2 separate regions of the Homo sapiens genome follow, and region 1 is linked to region 2. Evidence: promoter capture Hi-C in 16 types of primary human blood cells and fetal thymus (Javierre and others, 2016). All regions are on one chromosome and are shown on one strand. Each heading gives the region's core, a stretch centred on a gene start or on the middle of the fragment in contact. The rest is flanking DNA. Distances are from core to core; before and after follow the strand shown. Region 1 overlaps DIXDC1 (DIX domain containing 1). Region 2 holds the start of HSPB2 (heat shock protein family B (small) member 2).

Region 1 (6,429 bases), core at 1-2,500, 110 kb before region 2:
CATCCGAAAGGGTGAGACGGGGCCTAAGAGATGACAAGGGCACGACCGAGGGGGAGGGGCCTAAAAAGGCGCAGAGACGCGGGTTAATTGCGGCCGAGTGGCCTGAGAGTCTGGGCCGAGGGGCGTGGCCAAGCTTTCTGGAAAAGCTGGAAGTGAGCCCGGGAACTGGCTAGGGCAGTGGGAGCCTCAGGCCAAAGGGCGGGGGTCTTGGAGTGCTGGGGTGGTGAAGGAGCCAGGAATCGCCCGCGAGGGAATCGAGGGGTCCGGCGTGGTGACCTCTGCTTCTGCGCATCCGAAGGGGGATGGACTGGGCCGCGCCCCGCGCAGGCTGTACTGGTTGCAAAGATTTCGTTTCAGGTTTGTAGCCCAAGTGGAAAGTGGAGTGAACAGGTGTTCCACCCAGCCAAGTGGTAACGAAAGGCAGCCCAGAGGAAGATACATTCCCGCATTCATGTATACTGTAGCAAGATTAAGCATATTCCCTGTATGAAGATATAGGTTTACAAAACAGGTGTTGCTCCCTAATACCATAGAATTCTTTTAAGTAACCAAAAGCTTCGTTATGTTTCAAATGTTTGAAAAACTTAACTGTAAGCCGTTGAAGGCATGAAGAGTGTCTGCGTGGTCCTTCCATGTAGCCCCAGAGCTTAATATCCAGTAAATAGCGGGGGCTGAATGTATGTCTTTTGAATCAATGAATAAAAAGTCATCTACACATTTTGTTAGGCACGCTTCTCTTGTAAAGTTGTCTTTTAATTAGAAAACATATCGTTTCTGAACTGAAGGTGACATTAGATAAGGAGGAAGCATGTGCTGTGTATCACCACCTCCCCCCTGTAGAGATGGTTAGAGAACACCAAGAACGCAAGAGGAAGTTGGAGGGAAGAAACTTAAAACAAGATTTTAGCCAGGAGCGGTGGTGCATGCCTGTAGTCCCAGCAATGCTTGAGAGGCTGAGGTGGGGGAATCACTTGAGCCCAAGAGTTTGAGACCAGCCTGGGCAACATAATGAGACTCCCATCTGTTAAAAAAAAAAAAAAATGGGGGCTAATCTTGCTAACAATTAATTTGGAAAACTAAAACAGATTGGATGTACTATTTCATGCCTACTTAAATTGGAATGTTTAAGCAGGTACAGCTGTCTATCAGAATAATATGTAAGCAATATAATTGAGAAATATAAAATTTCTAGATTGAATGAAAAGGCATATTTTAAATAATATGAAGAGAGCAATTATATTGTTACAATTATGTACAACTTATGAATTAACAATTGGAAGAAGCAATGAAAGAATAATTGTAATTACTGAAAGGACTTATTACTATTATTTGGGGATGGAGTCTCACTCTGTCGCCCAGGCTGGAGTGCAGTGGCATGATCCCGGCTCACTGCAACCTCCACCTCCCAGGTTCAAGCGATTCTCCTGCCTCAGCCTCCCGAGTGCTGGGATTACAGGCACGTGCCACCATGCCCAGCTAATTTTGTGTTTTTAGTAGATACGGGGTTTCACCATGTTAGTCATGCTGGTCTCAAACTCCTGACTTCAGGTGATCCACCTGCCTCGGCCTCCCAAAGTGCTGAGATTACAGGCGCGAGCCACCATGCCCGCCCAGGACTTATAAATTATTATAAAAATGTTTTTGAGTTGGCTAAAATATCTTGCTGCTTTTGCTGCATTTGAACTTAATAACTGGATCTAAATTAGACTTTGGTATAAAGTATGAGGTGATCTTCCGGATCTGTTGTGCACTTAGGTATGCTTGCTTAAACCCTGTTTTGCATTTTTCAAAGAATAGCGAGTTTGTGTCTTGAATATACTTTTGACTTAAGTGTAGTTAAATTATAGGAATGCATAGCTCAAACAGTCCAGAGATGGCGAGCTTACCCCAGAGGTGGGCTAGGAATGCTTAGGTTTCTCAAATCAGTCCTGAGAGAACAAGCTTGAATTCCACTAAACAGACTGGATAAAGGAAATTATGGAAAAGGAGACTCAAGACTCAAAGGTTTGAAATAGAGATACTTAAGAGAATGGTGATATCACTGATATTGAGAGAAACAGAAATTAGTTGGTAGTGAAAGATTTTGAGTTATGTACATATTTAATTTTAACATAATGGGATAGCCAATTAATAGTTGAAAATACGTAATTGGAAGTCAAATGAAGGCACTCAGGGATAAAGAATTTAATATAGCAAACATTTAAGATGAATTGATAAGAGGCATTTAAGAGGCAGCTTTCAAATGATCTGGGAATTCTGGTCATTTTAAATACACATTTCTGAAAGAGTTCTTAATGCTTGCATACTGACTTTTGTCATAGAGTTTATACTCTTGGGTTCTTATTTGTTTGCATGTTTACATATAATTTCAAAATAAGTGCTAAATAAATTGTCCTTGATAATAGCCTATGTGCTTACATAGAAATACTAATTGTAAAATATCTGTAGCAATAAAGTAATTCTTATCTCCACTCCACATAGTGAGTAAACATGCTACCAGGGAGATCACTTGAGGAAATTTGCTTTCACTAAATGTAAATGGCTTTATTGATTAATCTCATCAGTAAACGCAAGTGAAAATCATTAATGATATTTAGTTTGCAAACCCCATTTTATTCATAGTTTGTGGTTTTTTAAATTAGTTCACAAATCTGGTACATACCGGCAGTTAAAACTGGTTATCACTTTGATAATCAGAAGCCTCTGGTGTAACATAGTCTTCATGAAAACATATTGTAAAACAGGGAGAATACACAGTAATAATCTCTTTGAAAGCAATGGCTGTAAACATCCATGTTTCTAAGAAAATATAACTTTACATATATATGTATTTTAAGCAAGCTATACCTCTTACATAAATTCAGACAGTAGAAGGAGTGTGCAATCATAATGCTTATTTTATGGAAACAGTGAAAATAATTTTAATTATGACCTAAATGCTTTTAAGTAATTAAAGTCCTCTTGAATTGGATGTATAGTATAAAGATATTTTCCCTAATTTGCAACCATCCTGGTCAAAAAGAGCTGAAAAGTTGGTCAGTAAGTAGAAGTGCCATTACCAAGTAAGTTTAAAACAAATTCTTCAAATTTAAAAATGTAAAAATTGTAAAGTATCCCAATCCCCCCAGCTAATTTAGGGAACTGAGCAAGAAGAGAACATTCTTCAGTTTTTAAATGACTTTTTTTTTTTTTTTTTTGGAGATGGGGTCCTGCTCTGTAGCCTAGGCTAGAGTGCAGTGGCATGATCAGCTCACTGCAACCTCAAACTCCTGGGCTCAAGCAATCTTCCCACCTCAACCTCCTGAGTAGCTGGGACTACAGGTGTGTGCCACCATCCCCAGCTACTTTTATAATAAAATTTCTATGTAGAGACGGAGTCTTCCTACGTTGCCCAGGCTGGTCTTGAACTCCTGGGCTCAAGCAGTCTTCCTGCCTCGGCCTCCCAAAGTGCTGGAATTACAGGCATGAGCCACCACACTCAGCCTTAAATGAAGATTTTGTAAGGAATTGAGCATTCAACTAAACTCGTTTTTGTGAGATGGTCATTTTGTTTTAACCTAACATGGTTTAGAGATTATTTTATGAACTCTAAGCATTCTGGTTCCTCAGTTTTCTCAAAGAAAGAGAACTTTAGCAAGTAGCAGGACAAGCTACCCCACACCAATGCCACCAGGCGACAATACTATGAATAAGTCAGGAGGCCTCCTAGAATGCAGCCAAATAGGAAACTGTTCCAAACAGAATCAGTCTTGCATACTTCTGCTCAGAAGGCTCCTCTCGCTTTGGAAACTGGAATGAGGATCACCAACAGGATCCTCATTTTACACAGGAGTTATGAGAGTTACATCCTCTAGCAGAGATGCTTGGTCATTACCTGTGGTACATGAGATTACCGAGCTAAAAGGGAAAAAAAACGATCTTAATGTTCTCCCATGAACTCAACTTAAGCTTTTTATGGAGGCACTGAGGCCATGCAGCTCCTTTTCCAAAAGACACAGATAAAAGCCAAATAAGGTAGAGGACTTTGGAAATTTTCTCTGAAAAGTTAAATTCCACATAATAGTAAGACTGTTTGCTGAGAGAAAACTGACAAGTAAAAACTGGTTTAAGAGACAGACATTCAAGACAAACTGTATTGGAAATACAATAATGAATTTTGGCCTGATAGCCCTCATGCTGTCTTATAGCAAAACACTAAAATTCATGCAACAGAGAAATTGGTGACATGAGGACTTTTTCTCCAGACTTCCTGGGGAAAAACTGTGAGAATATACTTTTTTCTTCTGTTTGCTTTCGAAATGCATTCTTTCTTTTGCTGACTTTCCCAAACTTTCCCAGTCGTTTCTGATGAAAAATTCTTCAATAGGAAAAGACCAGGTAAACTTACATGAAAGACATCAAGTATCTTTTGAGCTCCTTCTCTCTGCCAGAGGAGCAATCAACTGGATTACACAAAACTACCTTCACAACTAAAACAGGTAGAATTGGAACAGGAATTAGTTGTCATTAATATACTCGTAATAAAATAAAGCTTGTTCTGAAACCACAAGGGGTGGTAAGAAGAGACTGTATAAAAGCTACTGGGTTCTCTAGAAAATGGATACAGTATACAGAATGTGAGAAGATACAGAACTCACACTCCAGTTATAAAAATAGACATGGTTCTCAGACAAAAAGCAAATGAGTACAAAAGAATTCTCCAAACGTGAACTATTTTTAAAAGATACATCTATATAAAACAACAAGATGTCATCTCAGAGCTCCAAAGAGTAGTTTGTTGAAATGGCTGAAAAGGGGAGATGAATTGGAGACAGATAGGTCAAGAACCCAGAACAGATGTGTCCTACTCTTGTGTTTGGCAGTGTACATTGGAGGTCACAGGCAGATAGACTGCTTTTGGTAATACATATATAAATAATAATGGCTGACTGGTTGATGGTGCTTGATGGATGAATGAGAAAACCCAGGTTATCAAATAATCTCGGTAGTTGAACTGTTAGCTTCTTCACTTGACAATGTTGCACATCAGAAATGATTCTAGGTTTTTTTTACCCAGAATGATCCCTGCCATTCACAACTCATGCTCCACGCCCCATGGTTTCTATTGTGCCCTAAAAGATCAGCCTAGACTAATACATAAATAGAAAATAACTCTGGCCTTGAAATGAGGGGCAGACAAGTACTTCATGCTCAGTACTTATAAATCACAAAGAAATGCTGAAATTAATGGTCTGTCTCCTTTTACTACAAAGGAGATGCCATGAGTTAAAGTCATGAAACAAAGAAAGTCAAAAAGATATGGGTAGCAGCACCTTTCCATACCCGCCTGGATTTTCAAGGAGCTTTTCACTCCTTATGCCTTTCAAACAAAAGTTCATCAGTTTGAAGAAAAAGAAATGGCTCTAAAGTTAAAGAGTCCCCAGAGAAAACTAACAGTACATGAAATAGGCCCTATGTGGGCAAAAGGACAAGCTGCAGAACCAGTTAAGACAGAAGAGGCAGCCCAAGGTCTTACTAAATTACAGTTTTAGCATAGTGTAGCACAACATGGGCAGCCCTTTTTCCATCCAAGCAACAATTCAGCACCATCCACGTCTGGTTCAAAAGATTACTGAAGTCTGGGCTTTCATCTTTGGTACCACCTCATGAGTTATTCTTGGTTTGCAGTAGGTTCAAAGAAACAGAAAAGCTGGTACCTTTGCCTTGTCTGTGAGTACAAACGCTGGGACTCTGATTGCTGCAACCATTGAGGCCAATTAAAATAATACTGTAACACACAGGAATGATGCATCCAATTCCTAATTTCCAGATAATAGCAGCCATGCCCCTACAGAGGCGGGATCATCCATCCCCATCGTTTAAGGCCTTCGGTTTGTTGTCCTCAGAGTAGAATAGAACACTGTGTTCCCACGGACAAGGAACTCCAGATGAACCCATGGTCTACATTTGGACAGAATTTTAAGTACCAGATATGCCAGGCACAGAAAGAGGACTGACCTGTGGCCATCATGCTTGGAGAAGCTTCTGTTTTGGCACACAAACTAGAAACTTCTTAGTGTATTCTGGTTTTAGTTCCCTTTCCTGAGTGAAGCAGCCAGGGAGTGACCAGGTTCCATAAGCCCTCAATCTGATACTTGGCATTAATTCTCTCCATGGTCTTCTTCCACCCAAGCTACAATTTTCCCTTCCCATCCAGGGATGGCATCATCATCATGGAAAATCTAGAGAAAAAAACAAAAAGCCACAGTGAAAAAACAGGGAATCTGATTCACTAAACAATTGCTGCTAATAAAAATAAGACCTCAACCATGTAGAAGAAAGCCTTGAGTTAAGAGTCTATGTCCTTTTGGTCTTGTCCCTAGAACTGCAACTGATATTTTATTTTTTTCTTAGATCCACATCTATGAAATGGTTTTAAAAAATGCCTGA
Region 2 (6,653 bases), core at 4,154-6,653:
CCCATCATTCTTGTGTTCAGTTCTCTCACCCCATTTTTAGTGTTTTCCTCGGATGCCTGGTTATTGTCCTTTAAGTGGATGTTCAGGGCCCACCACTCAGCTCTGCACTCCACAGAGAATACCCTGGACTTTGAACTCCTCCTCTTATGAAACATGGGTAAGAGTGACAATCTTACAGGATTGTGGTGAAAAATAAAGCTCTAGTGCAGGGCCTGGCACATGGGACACACTCAGTAAGAGTTAGGCATTGTTGTTATTATTACAAAGCATCTTATTTTCTTTCTTTCTTTTATTTTTAAAGACAGGGTCTCAATCTGTCACCCAGGCTGGAGTTGAGTGGCTAGCTCACTGCAACCTCAAACTCCTACGCTCAAAAGATTCTCCCCCCTCAGCCTCTCGAGTAGCTGGGACTACAGGCTCACACCACTGTGCCTAGCTAATTAAAAAAAAAAAAATCTTTTTAGAGACAAGGTCTTTTTTTTTTTTTTTAAATTAATGTGAGATGGGGGTCTTGTTATGTGGACCAGGCTGGTCTCGAACTCCTGGCCTCAAGCAATCCTCCCATCTCAGCCTCCCAAAGTGCTGGGGTTACAGGTGTGAGGCACCACACCTGGCCAAGATAGGGTCTTGCTATGTTGCCCCTGCTGGACTTGAACTTCTGGCCTGAAGTGACCCTCCCACCACGCCTGGTTCCCACATCTTACTTTCTTTTCTTGTGCCCCAATCATTGCACTATTTCATGGCCATGCTTCTTCCATGCAATCCATTCTGTACTCTACTCTACCATTAACTGTATCCTTTTCATCTTGTTACCCACTCCTTCTCCTCCCAGTTCAAAAGCCATTAATGATTTCCTATCACCTACAGGATACAGTTCAAACTGCTTAGCCTGGCACTCCAAGCCCTCCATAATCTGGTTCCTTTTTAGTCACCCCTTCTGTAATGTTTTAAAAAGCACCTAAGCAGCTGGGTTTACACAGTGGCTTGGCTCATGCCTGTAATCCCACTGCTTTGGGAGACTGAGGCAAGAGGATCGCTTGAGCCCAGGAGTTCAAGATCAACCTGGGCAATATAGCAACAACCCATCATCTCTACAAAGTATAAAAACTGAAAAATTAGCCAGGTGTGGTGATGTGTGCCTGTAGTCCCAGCTACTCAGAAGGCTGAGGTAGGAGGGTTGAGCAAGAAAGTTTGAGGGTGCAGTGAGCTGTGATCACACCACTTTACTCCAGCCTGGGTGACAGAGTGAGACTCTGTCTCTAAAAAAAAAAAGAAAAGAAAAAAAGGAAAAGAAAAGAAAAGGAAAGGAAATCACCTAAGGGATTTTTAGATGACCAGAAACTCCAAAGAAATCAATAGAGGAATAGACCATTGTGGTAGCCAGAAAACCTCATATGCCTAAAGCAGCATTAATAGAAGCCTGAAGTGATAAACAAGGATATTGATTATTCCACTGAAGTCTGTACCAGTCAATCCATGACTGGAATAATAATTTTAGGTCTAGATGTTGAATTTCAAGTTACGTTGTCAAAAGGCAGTATGTTCAAAATAAAGTTATCTGGGTAATATGTGATGTGGAAAGTGCTGTATGATATGGTTGAAAGAACAAGGCATGGCTGGGTGTGGTGGCTCACGCCTGTAACCCCAATGTGTTGGGAGGCCGAGGTGGGCAGATTGCTTGAGGCCAGAAGTTCAAGACTAGCCTGGACAACATGGCGAAACCCAGTCTCTACAAAAAATTAGCCAGGTGTTGTGGCGCATGCCTGTAGCCTCAGTTACTCAGGAGGTTGAGGTGGGAGGATTGCTTGAGCCCAGGAGGAGGAGGTTGCAGTGAGGGGAGATGACACCACTGTACACCCAGCCTCGGTGACAGAGAGAGACTTTGTCTTAAAAAAAAAAAAAAGAACTAGGCATGTTTAGCTGGGAAAGGGAAGCCTCAGGAAGACAGGATGGTTATCTTTAAATATCAGAAGGATTTTCAGTGAAAAAACCATTGTGTTTGTTTTCCAGAGAAGTTACTGAAATGCAGATTTTGATTCAACAAAAGGAGGAATTTATAACGGTTAAGTCAGTTAAGACCAAAAAGAAAATGGAAGGCCAGGTACAGAGGCTCACACCTGTAATCCCAGTACTGTGGCAGACCAAGGATAGAGGATTGCTTGAGTCCAGGAGTTCAAGACCAGCCTGGACAACAAGGCGAGACCTCATCTCCAGAAAAAGTAAAAAATTAGCCAGGCGTGGTGGCACACACCTGTAGTCCCAGCTACTCAGGAGGCTGAGGCAGGAGGATTGCTTGAGCAAGGGAGGTTGAGGCTGCAGTGAGCCATGATCATGCCACTGCACTCCATCCTGAGCAACAGAACAAGACCCTGTCTAAAAAAGAAAAGAAAGAACATGGAAACGACTACCGTGAGAAGTTCTAAGTTGTCTGTTATTCAGAATGTCCCCGAATAAGTTGATTAATAACTTTAAAAGCATTTGAATGGAGAGGGGATTTGGACTAAATCAGAAGTTTTCAAATTTCTTATAGCTAGGAAACCCTTTCCTTTAAATAAAGCTCAGTTACAAAACATATCAATGTGAAGCTATTTTGGTTGAAGTCTAAGTAGAATCCTTTTCTTATTATTTTTCTTCTCAACTAGATTCTGGAAAGTTGACAATAAAAGCTAATAGTTTTTATAATTTATATTTACAATGTATATCCCCCAAGGTGTATTACATGAGGTTTGATAAATATTTACTGAATGAATGAATGAACAGTTAAATATGTCAAATGTTATTTCTCTGGGGCATGCTTTCATTTTTAATAGACAGCAATCTTTTAACCAAAAGTCGAATTCCTCAAGTGAGTTCTGTTATCCTGGAGGTCCACAGATCCCTAAGGGGGGTATGTGAATGGGTCTTAAGAGTTGTGGGAACCTATTCAAATTGTATTGCCAAATTTGGGAGCATATGTATTTTTCTGGTAAGAGCAGCTATAGCTTTTGTCAGATTTTCAGAAGGGTCTATAACTCCCAAAAGTTAAGAAACAACCACTTAATTTAATTCAATTCAATTTAATTTTTTTGAGGCAGGGTCTCACTCTGTCACCCAGGCTGGAGTGCAGTGGCGCAATCTCAGCTCACTGCAGCTTCAACCTCCCTAGCTCATCCTCCCACCTCAGCCTCCCAAGTAGCTGGGACTACAGGCATGCACCACCATGCCTGGCTAATTTTTATTTTTTTGTAGAGACAAGGTTGCACTCTATTGCCCAGGCTGGTCTCTTACTCTTGGGCTCAAGTGATCCTCCTGCCTCGGCCTCCCAAAGTACTGGGATTACAGGTGTGAGCTGCTGCACCCAGCCAAGAAACAACTGCTTTAATGGAAGAATTGTAGGTATCTACCACAGCCTAATGAAATATGTATTTGGAGGCAGGAAGGTCTTTTGGACACTTCCCCCAAATCATGTAGCTGGATGTTCTCTTGATTGCAGAGAATAACTGAGGGGACAGACCTCAGGCTTTCCTGAATACACCGTACCCCCAGAGGATGGGAAGGTAATGGGGTTCCGTGATAATTGGAGAGGCTTTGTGTCTGTGCCCTGTGTATGCATACTCAGGCTCTCAAAATCAGTGACCATTTAAGTGGACAGACCTTAGTACATGAAAACAAAGTATTCACTCCAGGACTTTAGGCAACTCTCACCAGCCAAAAACCATTTTCCCAGCCCCTACCCAAAAAGGGCCAGACAGTCTGGAGACCCTTGTTTTTGTGTCTCTAATCACCAGCTCAGACAGTGCCCTCTGGGCTGTTTGGATGGCATATCCCTTTTCCCTCCCAGGATCACTCTCTCTTTTGTTGCATTGTGAGAAAATTATGGCTAGGAATTTGATCTGGAGCCAGAGTCAGCTTCCGGGTGTGATCTCAGCATCCAAGTGCGAGCTCAGGGTCCTATGACGTTGGGCACATCAAACTGAGGAGCTTTTTGTCTAGCTGGCTGTGACCTCCTCCCTCCCTCCCCATCCCAGCTTCCCGGCCACAGAATAGGGAGCAGTACAAACAAGGCCCTGAGATTTGGGTTTATTCAGCTCCACCCAAAACTAAACCAAGGCTATGACATGTCCCATGGGACCAAACCATACATTGTGGACCATGCACCTTTCCCTTCCCCCAAGGATGCTGCTACCTCTGGAGTGGTGGGCAGCTGCCCATATCACCTTGGGAGGTAGAGAGGGATTTGCTGGGTGCTGGGTCTGTGGCAATCAGGGCTCAACTATGGCTGCCTCCTCCTCTTCCTCTGGATCAGGAGGCGCAGGGAGCAGGGAGATGTAGACCTCATTGACCTCTGTGTCCAAATGTCGGCCACCCCGAGGTGCTTCCAGGTTTAAGATGCCATCATGGGAGAGAGCAGCTCGGACTCGCCAGGGGTCGACATCAGCAGGCAGGACATAGGTGCGGCAGAACTCTCGGGACACGAAGCCGTGGCGGTCCAGGCGCTGGGGGTGCCGGGCAGACACCTCCAGCAGGTTATCCACAGTCCTCACAGTCACCTCGTCTGGGGTAAAGTGGCTCACATCCAGAAATGCCTGGAACTTGCCCTCACTGAGCCTAAGCTCGGAGGCCCCTGCCCTGCTGCCCTCCCCAGCTGGGGCGGCCCGAGGCCGGACATAGTAGCCATGGTAGAGTGTGGGGGTCAGGATCTCTTCTGGCAGGAGGCCTAAAGGGCAGAGAGAAGGCAAGAGGCAGGATGAGGGAGGATGAGGCTGGCACAGGGGCGAAATGGGAAATCTGGAGAGGAGGGATTGGGAAGAGCAAGAGGGGAGTCAGGAGGAGTAGGGAACGGGAGGGAGGCCACACTGTAGCTAGGAGGAGAAGGCAGCTCGGAAGAGGGGAAAGAGAACGGAAAGGAAAGGGAGGAGGAGGAGGAGAAGGAGGAGGAGGGGGAGGAGGAGGAGGCACCAAACGGCCTGGGTGGATAGAAGGGGGACAAGGAGGCACACCCAGGCCGGCAAAGAGCAGGTATCAGCACTGCAAGCACCAAGTGTGTCTTGAGGTCAGCAGGAATGGGAAAGATCTCTGCTTGGAGGGGATGAGGGGTAGTCTGGGGTGGGGGGTGGCTGGTCCCAGGAGATCAGTTAAGCCCAGAGTGGGGTGGAGGCCAGCAACGTTGGGAGGTCAGCCCAGAATTTCAGGGGGTGGGGGTGGGGGGCAAGGGGGTGGTGTCTGTGCCATACCTTCTCCGAAGCGCTGCTCACCCAGGCGGCTCGGGTTGGCAAATTCGTACTCGGCGGTGGCCGGGTGGGCATGTGGCACTGAGCGGCCCGACATGGCTGCAGATGCAGCAGAAGCCCTGGTCCGAGGTGCAGCCCCAACAGGCGCAGCGCGACCCCTCCAGCTGCCCGGAGAGCCAGGGCTCGATAGGAGGTGGGGGCGGGGTCGACACCACCCAAAATAGTGCCGAGCCTCTTGGGGGGGGAGGGGCTGGGAGTGGGGGCCCTGAGTGAGAGCAACGAGGGTGTGACCAGCGCCGCCCGGACCCCTAGTCCCCTCCCCCGCACACTCTTCAGCTGTCGCAGGGGGCCTGAGAGGACAGCTGAGGGTCCTGGCTGGGAACGAGCTGGGGAGGGGGAGCTGGTGGTGCCTGGGGCATGAAGAGGCCTCGCTGAGACCCTCACAAACGGTTTGCACGTTTCCACACCTCATTTTCTCCTCTTCGGTGGCAGGCACTGTGCACCCAATTCCTAAAGCACTCCTGGATTTAATGTTCTGAGAGCCACATAGAACGAAAGATGCAAGAAATCTGTTTGCTCTTTTTTCAGGGGGTGGGGTCTTTCTGCCCAGATGTGGGATCCTCTCCTAAACCCAGGTCAACCCAGGGCACGAGGCAGATGGCTGGTGCTGACATGTTGACCATCACTGCTCTCTTCCAAGGACTCACAAAGAGTTAATGTCCCTGGGGCTCAGCCTAGGAAGATTCCAGTCCCTGCCCAGGCCCAAGATAGTTGCTGGCCTGATTCCCCTGGCATTCAGGACTGGAAAGGAGGAGGAGGGGCACACTACGCCGGCTCCCATCCTCCCCCCACCCCGCGTGCCTGCTTGGGATTCCTGACTCTGTACCAGCTTCAGAGAACAGGGGTGGGGGTGGGTGCCATTGGGTGTGGACAGAAAGCTAGTGAAACAAGACCATGACAAGTCACTGGCCGGCTCAGACGTGTTTGTGTCTCTCTTTTCTTAGCTCAGTGAGTACTGGGTATGTGTCACATTGCCAAATCCCGGATCACAAGTCTCCATGAACTGCTGGTGAGCTAGGATAATAAAACCCCTGACATCACCATTCCAGAAGCTTCACAAGACTGCATATATAAGGGGCTGGCTGTAGCTGCAGCTGAAGGAGCTGACCAGCCAGCTGACCCCTCACACTCACCTAGCCACCATGGACATCGCCATCCACCACCCCTGGATCCGCCGCCCCTTCTTTCCTTTCCACTCCCCCAGCCGCCTCTTTGACCAGTTCTTCGGAGAGCACCTGTTGGAGTCTGATCTTTTCCCGACGTCTACTTCCCTGAGTCCCTTCTACCTTCGGCCACCCTCCTTCCTGCGGGCACCCAGCTGGTTTGACACTGGACTCTCAGAGGTGAGTCTCCCCACAGCTAGGACGGGAGAGTCCTTACTGG

The links. Contacts are between HindIII fragments. The CHiCAGO score rates a contact against its expected background, and 5 or more counts as called.
Region 1: a contact is called between a fragment that was not itself captured here and the fragment with the promoter of HSPB2 in region 2, in 8 of 17 cell types (megakaryocytes, total CD8 T cells, activated CD4 T cells and 5 more). The highest score is 9.0, in megakaryocytes.

Annotation. Positions count from the first base shown.
Region 1 is chr11:112,018,748-112,025,176 of GRCh38, reverse strand. It overlaps DIXDC1 (DIX domain containing 1), which reads right to left. Exons shown (of 20, transcript NM_001037954.4): 20 at 2,524-6,221. The coding sequence ends at 6,141. Among named protein-coding and RNA genes, the nearest start is that of DLAT, 3.4 kb to the left of the region's middle. RefSeq lists an enhancer at 618-807. The HindIII fragment of the contact is 1,386 bases long and covers 558-1,943 here.
Region 2 is chr11:111,911,484-111,918,136 of GRCh38, reverse strand. It overlaps HSPB2 (heat shock protein family B (small) member 2), which reads right to left and starts at 5,403. Exons shown (of 2, transcript NM_001541.4): 1 at 5,214-5,403; 2 at 4,044-4,696. The coding sequence starts at 5,307. The coding sequence ends at 4,242. CRYAB (crystallin alpha B) reads left to right here and starts at 6,367. Exons shown (of 3, transcript NM_001289808.2): 1 at 6,367-6,613. The coding sequence starts at 6,413. HSPB2-C11orf52 (HSPB2-C11orf52 readthrough (NMD candidate)) reads right to left here and starts at 5,401. Exons shown (of 5, transcript NR_037651.1): 1 at 5,214-5,401. RefSeq lists an enhancer at 3,999-4,652. The HindIII fragment of the contact is 6,880 bases long and covers 1-6,324 here.